2 separate regions of the Homo sapiens genome follow, and region 1 is linked to region 2. The links are contacts of gene promoters, found by promoter capture Hi-C in human tissues and cell types (Jung and others, 2019). All regions are on one chromosome and are shown on one strand. Each heading gives the region's core, a stretch centred on a gene start or on the middle of the fragment in contact. The rest is flanking DNA. Distances are from core to core; before and after follow the strand shown. Region 1 has its middle 33 kb from the start of LINC01247. Region 2 holds the start of CMPK2 (cytidine/uridine monophosphate kinase 2).

Region 1 (4,384 bases), core at 1,545-4,044, 520 kb before region 2:
CATCACAGCTCACTGTAACCTCCGTCTCCCGGGTTTAAGCAATTGCCCCGCCTCAGCCTCCCAAGTAGCTGGGATTACAGGCATGCGCCACCACACCTGGCTAATGTTTTGTATTTTAGTAGAGATGAGGTTTCACCATATTGGTCAAGATGGTCTCGATGTCCTGACCTCATGATCCACCCACCTCGGCCTCCCAAAGTGCTGGGATTACAGGCATGAGCCACCAAGCCCAGCCACATTATGAGATTCTTTTGCAGTTTTTTTTTTTTTTAGCTTATGAGCTATTGTTAGTGGTGGTGTATTTTATGGGTAGCCCAAGGCAATTCTTCTTCCAGCGTGGCCCAGGGAAGCCAAAAGATTGGACACCCCTGGCCTACATGATAGGACCTGGAGAACACCAAGCTAAAGTGGAACCTGATGTTTTCTCTAAACCAGTAGAGAAGACCACTATCACACTCTCCTGCTGCGTCTAAAGCCTCCTGACTTCACCATACACATTCATGGTATGTTCTATCTTTCAATGAAATAACAAATTATGTTTTTCCTACTGTACAAAAGAGAATCACATCAGGTTCTAGATGTGTATTTATTACAAGGTTTTTTTCACAGATTGCAACAAGTAGAATGTGCAATGCTTGGTAAGTTTCTGTGAGAGACCTCTGCCCATTGTGACATCAGCTTGCTATTTAATGACATTTATAAAGAAAAAGTAGAATCCACCCACTGAACACACACAAAATAAGGTCACCATATTGAGCTTCACTACAGTCTAATTTGTCCTTATTATGGTCTCTATCATTTCTGTCCTCAGAGAAATTGCAAATGAGTTCAAAATTTCCTCCATCCCCTTCACGAAAACCACGCCATGCTGGGGAAAATCCCAGGCCCACTATTCTACCCACTGATTAAGGAAGCAGAGAATCTAGAATATTTAGGTTTTGTGAGAATTCACTTCACTAGCTCAAAGAAGACTGGAAACACACAAATGTGAAAGCTGACATGGAGGTGAGAAAAGGTCAATGCACCTCTACATTGTTTCAAGCAAAAGATAAACGGTCAAAGAAATAACCCCTTTAACAGGTCTCTTGGTTTCTTTGGATCCTGAAATTTCAACACTTCGCTAATTTGAAAAAATAAATACATAAATTTATGCCTACTTTGTACTAATGGGTCACTCTGGGTTTTGTAATCATATATGAATCCATACAGCACAGGCAAACAGAAAATGTGCTGCCATGGCATGGCCACTCATCAGATGCCCTTCAAAATGCATCAGTTCACTTGGTAGGTGTCCTTGAAAAAGGGTTTCATTTTAGTTGTTCCAATTGTCTATTAATCAAACTTTCGATTCTTGCTTACTTTTTAAGTAAAATTTTTCTACAGAAAATCCATATGCCAACAGCCTTATACACACATACTGTTCATCCAGGTTATTTATATTCAGCTAACAGATAGAGAGTACCTTCTATGAACTAAGTACCGTGACAAGTGCTTTATAGGCATCAGTATGAGGACTCACCAATGAGACCTCATTTTGCAACAAATAAAAAAAAATGAAGATGAACGTGCCTCACGAAATCTTAGTTCATTGTGATACCCCCTTATTCATACACATGAGGCTTAGATCATAACAATACATGTTGGTCTGTGTTTTTACTAGTCTCAGAAATACCTTCTTCCATTGCAGAATCCTACAGTTCTCTTCTATTTGCAGTCCTCTCCCTTTGCCATAACAACTGCCAGCACATGTGGTTGCCATGGCAAGCAGAGGAGGCATTATTAAGAAAGATAAGAGCTAAGACCTTACCTTATAATTCAACCTTGGTAGTTTATTTTTTCTCTTGAGTTCTTCATATTTTATGACCTACTTCATTTGCCCGTGAATTCCAAATGGTTTCCAGATGCATCTGGACTTTATCAGATATCTGGGCAACAAAGGTACTCTTTGGCTCTTTCCTGGTATTCAGCAGCAATAGAGAAAACAAGCACCAATACTACAGAATCTCTAGGCCAATTAAGAAAATGGGATGTAAAATTATTCTAAGACAAAAGAGCTAGACTGGCTCTCTAAAAGGTTAGAAAAGAGTTTAATAATATAAAAACAAATAAGAAAACTACATGTATTAATAAAGATTTAACTCCAGATTCAAATAAGGAATTCCAAATTGCTCCCCAAATTCCAATGAAAAGCACTCTGACCATTTGAATATGTCAGTTGTCAGCTCTCTTAATGAAATAAAATAGCAACCATACAACAAGGCTGGTACTGTAGCATCCGCCTTACTGGTAAGAAAACTCCAGTTCAGAATAATCAAATTCCTTGCCCAAGATTGTCCCAGGTAACAAACAACAGACACAGCTCTTTTGACCTTGAGTCTGGCACACTTTACAGCATTTTATGCTGCCTCAGCAGTATTTTTCTTCATAGATTAATTATTTCCATTTGGTACAAGGTGGTCTTTTCCCAGTTTGAGTGGCATGAACAATATTTTCTGTTGCAAAACCATCCCTGGGGATGCTTCCTCAATGTGGAGCTGTGATATTGCACTCCCCATCCAAGCCCCTCTGAGTGCAGCCAGAAGGCACCCTTAGCCTTGCACACTTCGCTGAAAGTGAGAAGTTGTTCTTAGGCTTGCTGCACATCATAAACACCTGTGAAGGTCTAAAAATGGCAACTTCTTAGCCCTAACCGCTGAGATTAAAATTTAATTGGTCCAGAGTGTAACTTGGGCCTCAGGCGCCCTAAAAGCTCCCCAGGTAATTTTATTATGAGGCAAAGTTATAGAACCACAGATCTAAAACTTTAAAGGCACCTTAGGTTCTGTAATAGGTACCTTTATACTGAGCAATGCATTAGAATCACTTGGACAGACAGTAAAATACGTATTTCCAGGTCCCATCCTGGAAATACAGGGGTAGGAATCATGGGTAGAAATCCCATGATTCTGACGTAGTCAACAGTTGGCATTTTGCAAACTGCTGATTTTGGACGCCTAAAACATGGACAGATTAGAGAAATGGACTATTGCAAACTTTGGGAATCACCGGAATCCTCTTTTAACTACCAGAGCCTCTAAGGAGGCTTATTTCTGAAACTTAGTACCAATTATACATCCTTCAGTCATCACGATTTAGCAACTCTTACAGAAAGAGAACAGAAAAGAAGAAGATGAGTCCAGGCTCAGACAGGTGCACAGAGTCGGTGCTGGGGAGGTGAGGGGGCACCTGATGGCTTTTGTTTTTCTAACGAAATGAGAGGCAATGCCATCTGTGGGCAGCATGTGAGGGGAGTGGTGCAGAGGGGAATTATGGGTGATGAGCTTGAATAGAAAAACAAAGGTCTAAAATAGTTAGTGCAGAGAGTGGGATAATGAGCTTAGTAGAGGAAAACCGGTAGGATTTCTTAGAATTTTTGAGTGAGAATTGAAATTCTTAATTATGAATGTATGAAGATGATATTATACTCTTTTGTCTTTTTCTAAACATTCTATACTGGTGTTCACCTTCACAGATAAAGGCATGAAGACTATATGTGAATCTAACCAAGATTAGTGTTTTGAAAAACAAATGGAAGGAAACAGCAAGCATGCAAGAGAAATGACGGTCTTTCTAAAGGGAAAGTTATTTTCAAAAGATGTAGTAGATTGAACTATTGCTTCTTCATATTCACTCTGCTTTCTTGTAAAAGAATTATATACAGTTGCACCATGCACGGGATTTGTAGTGTCTCCCATTGGAGAAGTATGTATCCTCACCCAGATGACATCAAGCTTGTTTGTGTGACTTGCTTTGGCCAATGGCATGTAAATGAATGTGGCATGTATCACATCTAAGCCAAAGCATTGAGAGTCGTGTTTTGCCAGCCATATCATTTGCTTTTCCACCCTTTGGGAAACGGTTGAGTTTCTACTCACACTGCCTCTGATCCTTTAAGCCAGAAGATCAAAGCTATCTTCATCCAACGTGGAGTAGCTGATAAGGCAAGCTACAGTTGGCCCAGCACTGTTTGGGGTAATAAACGTGAACCTTCTGATTTGCTTTGGGGCTATTGTTATTTCAACTTTGTTTCCACTTACCCAAAACTTCTTATTCCATTAGCCCATCCTAACTCAGTCTTTTACCCTTTGGACTTGATGTTAGTATTTTGTACCTTGCTGCTTGAGCTTGACTCTCGGCTCCAATGAATGCCTCAGGGACTTTTCTGGAAATTTTCCTGGCCTTCTCTTCTTCCAACCTGTCCAGCTATTCCTGCACTGTCTGGACCCACAAGCTCAGAGAAAGGGCAGATTTGAACAGTTCCTGTTCTGAGGAATGCTCAAGGGGGACTGATTGTTCCTGATTGCAAAGGCTACGTAGTAGGTTGTGCCTCCTCCTCAATTTAACT
Region 2 (4,255 bases), core at 1,561-4,060:
CTATTTCTTCTGTCTGGAGGATGTTACCTGCTTTCATCACCTGACCAACTCCTATCTGTACTTAAAATACAATCCAGGTATCACCCTTGACCATGCACTCCACCCGACAAAGCCCCACAGAGGCCAGATTCAGTGCCCTTCCTGTGTTCCGCCAGAGCACTGAGGATCCGCGCCCACACATCATGCTGCTTCATATTGAAGGTCTTATTCATCTCTGCATCCCAGGGCCTGCCTAGCACAGGGCCTGCCACACAGTAGGGGCACACATAAGGCTCCATATAAAGTTTGGTTTTGCAGGAAGTATTTCTGTTTCTGCAACTAATCAGTTAGTGTCATTGCCTATAACTAAAAGGTAATATTATCTTACCCGTGGCATCCAGTCCTTCGATGGCAACAACCTGGAACTTTCCTTTCTGGATCTGTTTTGGGCACTGGTCGACCAGGTCAAGCACTGCCCGGGCTTCAGGAATAAAGGAGGTACACTGTAAAACAACGTCTATCCATCAGCAATGAAGCCAGGGGGCTTTTGCAGAAATCACACCTAAATTGCTGAGCACAATATTGCCGCATGCTAATAAGGCCTAAGTTATACTGAGCACTGTGCCAGGCCATGGGAATTCAGAGTATTTCGATGCTAGGATGGACTGGAGTGTTTTATTTTATATTGAGCAGCCGAGGCTCGAAACAGCTGTCCCTGTCTGGATCGCTTGGTGGCCTGCAGCCTTCACTGAGCAGCTTTGAGAAAGGCCAGGCAAGGCACATCATCACAATGTCCTGTGACACCGCAACCATGGAACTACAGGCCCGCTGGGAACACTGTCTCACAAGAATGGGAAATCAGCTGCACAGTGGGCTGGAGAGAGCAGTCTTCATCTGCAGCATGTCCTCTCCTAGCCATTCAGGGGGCTGAGATAAACAGCCAAGCACTGCAATCATGAAGCTGGCAGAGCAGCGTCCCCCTGGGAATTCCCAGTTCCTCAATGTGCATTATCTCACTGCACGCTCACAGCATCTCAGAGCGAGGCTCAGACACTTATGTGCTTGCTCTGAGCATGGCAATCTTCTAAGTGCTTTACAAGTATTCAGTTGCCAATCTCTGTGAACTGGGGTGGGGGGGTGCTATTATTATTCCCACCATATGAATTAAGGAAACTGAGGCAGAGAGTTGAAGAAACTTGCTCAAAGTGACACAGCTAATAAATGCCAGAGTTTAAATTTAAATACACGTGGTTGACCTTGCGCTCTTAACTGCTCCACAACGCTGTCCCGTAAGCTTGGAAAATATTCCCAAGATCCATGGGGGCATCCTCAGGGCTCATCTGTGTCACAGGAGGACATCTGCCTAGCCTGCGATCAGAAAGAATTTTCAGTCTCTTTCTGTGGGTACCTGCTGTGAGTCAGATGTTTCCTTAATCAGGACAACATCGCAAGATGGGAATTGTACATGTCAAAGGGCAAAACTTAGAGTAGTTGAGTAACCTGCACAAGGTTCATGGCCAGTCGGTAGGTAAACACTATTTAAGTCTAAATTTCTTAAACCCCCTAAACTCATGCATTTTCTTTTTCACCCCAAGATCCTTGAATGGTGATCATCAGCAAATAAAATTACTTCCCAGCTGACATTATTTTCCCTCACTCCCGGCAGCCCCTTTACTCCCTCTGTACTGCTGTTGGGATGCTTTTACAGCAAGCATCGCGTGGCTTGGTGTAGGTCTATGTTCCACGTCAGGTTGGAAGATCCTTGCAAACAAGAATCTTAAAAGAGTTGCCTGGCATACAGGACACCTTCCCTACCTGATTTGTGAACGGAAATAAACAAACCACCCAGGCAAGAACCGGCTCTACAGACCAGCCTCTTGGTCCAGTTCTCTGGTCTGAAGGGTTCAGATGCCACGCTGGGAGCTGGAAGCGGACAGAACTCTTACCTCCTCCAAAACGGCCCGGGCGGCTTCCCGGTCCGGGAAGACCACGGAACTGGGCAAGTCTGGCACCACCGGGTGCAGCGGGGGCTCCGGGACGGGCACGACCTGTGCGCAGCCCACCTGCAGCCGCCTGCCGTCTTGCACCTCCCAGAGGCGCTGCCACAGCTGGCCGCGCGGGTCGGCCTCGAACTCGCCCAAGTGCGGGCGTGGTGCCTCCTGACAGGCGCCCAGCAGCTCGAGCAGCGCTTGCCGGGTGTCAGGGTCATCCAGGGGGTCGCGCAGCAGGAAGCCTTGCTGTGCGCCGCCGGCCTGGCCGCCCGGGCAGTAGCAGAGCAGCCTGAGCAGCTGGCACCGCTGGAAGGGGCCGCGGCGCAGCTGGTGCAGCAGGCGCTGGTGCAGCCGCGCCGCCCGGACCCGGGCCCCGCAGCCGGCGTCCGGGGTCACGGGCACGCACAGCGAGTAGCTGCGCTCCGGGGGCCCCAGCAGCGCCGCCAGGCGGGGGTCGGGGGCGTCTGCGTCGCCGGGGGCGTCGGCGCCTAGGGCGAAGTGAGCCAGGGTGCAGTCGGGAAGCTCCAGGACGAAGCGGCGCGGCGGAGCCATGGCCCCAGCGCAGACCCCGCGCCGCCCGAGCAGCGGCCCCGACAGTGGCCCGCGCAGGAGCCGGCGGGCGAAGGCCATGGGCGCCTCAGCGACGCCGCCCTCGGCCCCGCCTCGGAAACGAAACCTGGCGGGAGCCAGGCGCCGGCGGGAAACGAAACCCGGAGGGAGCCAGGCGCCAGCGGGAAACGAAAGCGAAGCGTTGCGGGGAAACGAAAGCCGGAGGCCCAGGCGGGGCAGGAGCCCTGGGGCTGGGGCGCCCTTCCGGCCTCTCCTCCTCGCCGCGAGATGTGCGCGATAAACGGCCGGCGCTCGGGAGCAGACGCTTGGCCCCGGGGCCCCAGGTGCGCGGCTCCGCGGGCCTGCGCGGTCCCCAGGCGCCGGCTCCCGGGGCTGACACCGAATGAGGCCCCGCGCCGTCGGCCCCAAGGTAGCTCCGTGTGCGTTCTGCGGGTGGCTGGCGGCCCCGACCCTGGTTTGAGTTCCTCCTCTGCGGCTTATGCCGGGTGCATGGAGGGGGGCGGGGGTGCACGCGCGAGGGACAGAGAAGTCCCTTCCCGGTGTAACGGGCTCTTCAACGCCCACTTGCAGGCGCACTACTGCCCTTGGATGACTGACCAGGCCCTGCAGACCATGGGCTCCCTCCCCGACCTCAACTCCTAGCTCTGACCACGCGTCCCCGCCCCTCTAATCCTGCAGAGCTGCTTTCCTGCGGGAACAGGGCGCAGTTCTGGCTCTTCCCTCTCCTGTATCTTATCTCACCTGTGCACTCACTCACCTGTGCACACACTCACCTTTGCACACACTCACCTGTGCACAAGCTTTTCCCTCTTCTTGGAATTGCCCTCTCCCTTTTGCTGACTCTCCAACTGGGAAGTGTCGCCCAGATTGGCACCTCGAAATCGCCTTTCTTCCACCAAATTGAAGTTTCCTGCACTAAGGTGAAGTGTGTCAGGATAGCACCCTCTGCCTGCCACAGTCCAGCATCAGCACTGTTGCTGCCTAACAGTGTAACTGCCTAACAGTGTAACAGTGTTTGCGCAGTTATTTGGATATTTTATTCTGTGTTTACTCATTAACTGATGCCTTTTAAAAATGATGTCAAGCAAACCAAAAACAAACAAAAAGATAATATTCTCCAGGGAAACTCTCTCAAAAAAATAGAATTGAGACGAAGATTGAAAACATTAGATGAGCTGAAAGCAGTTTTTTTTTTATGTCTTAATAGTATTGGACTTAAACTTGGGATTATATTTAATTCTGAAAAAAAAAGTCTTAACAAACGTGAAATATAGATAGGTGGTTGGAGTGTGGGTTAATAGGCTAAGAAGAAAGAAGAATTAGGAGTTTAAAATTTTTTAGCTCTTTGAGAATAGAATAGTTTTTATTCTTTCTCAGGAATTTCACTTTTGGACATTTAGCATGTACCGGTGGTTTCACGTGTATGTAGTATATGGAAGTAAGAGTCTTCTAGTTACTCCCTTTTCTTCTCTAAGACAGTACTGCATCCTCAAGCCTGCTTGACCTTTTCCCTATGCCATCCACCTCTCTGGATGTATTAGTCTATCCTGGCTGCCATAACAAAATACCACGGACTGGGCCGCCTAAACAATAGAAAATTTGTTTTCTCAAAGTTCAGGTGGCCAGAGAAGCTGGAGATCAAGTTGCCAGCAGGGTTTGCTTTTTCTGAGGCCTCTCTTTCTAGCGTGCAGACCGCCTCCTTCTCTCTGTGTTCT

Evidence for each region. Contacts are between HindIII fragments. The study calls those that stand out against the background at their distance.
Region 1: a fragment that was not itself captured here is called in contact with the fragment with the promoter of CMPK2 in region 2 in 1 of the 25 tissues and cell types used here (lymphoblastoid cells).

The regions. Positions count from the first base shown.
Region 1 is chr2:6,340,060-6,344,443 of GRCh38, forward strand. No RefSeq gene overlaps it. Among named protein-coding and RNA genes, the nearest start is that of LINC01247, 33 kb to the right of the region's middle. The HindIII fragment of the contact is 7,670 bases long and covers 1-4,384 here.
Region 2 is chr2:6,863,097-6,867,351 of GRCh38, forward strand. It overlaps CMPK2 (cytidine/uridine monophosphate kinase 2), which reads right to left and starts at 2,811. Exons shown (of 5, transcript NM_207315.4): 1 at 1,926-2,811; 2 at 368-482. The coding sequence starts at 2,600. It also overlaps a transcript of RSAD2 not described here. RefSeq lists silencers at 2,122-2,561, 2,802-3,071 and an enhancer at 2,582-2,801. The HindIII fragment of the contact is 2,409 bases long and covers 2,307-4,255 here.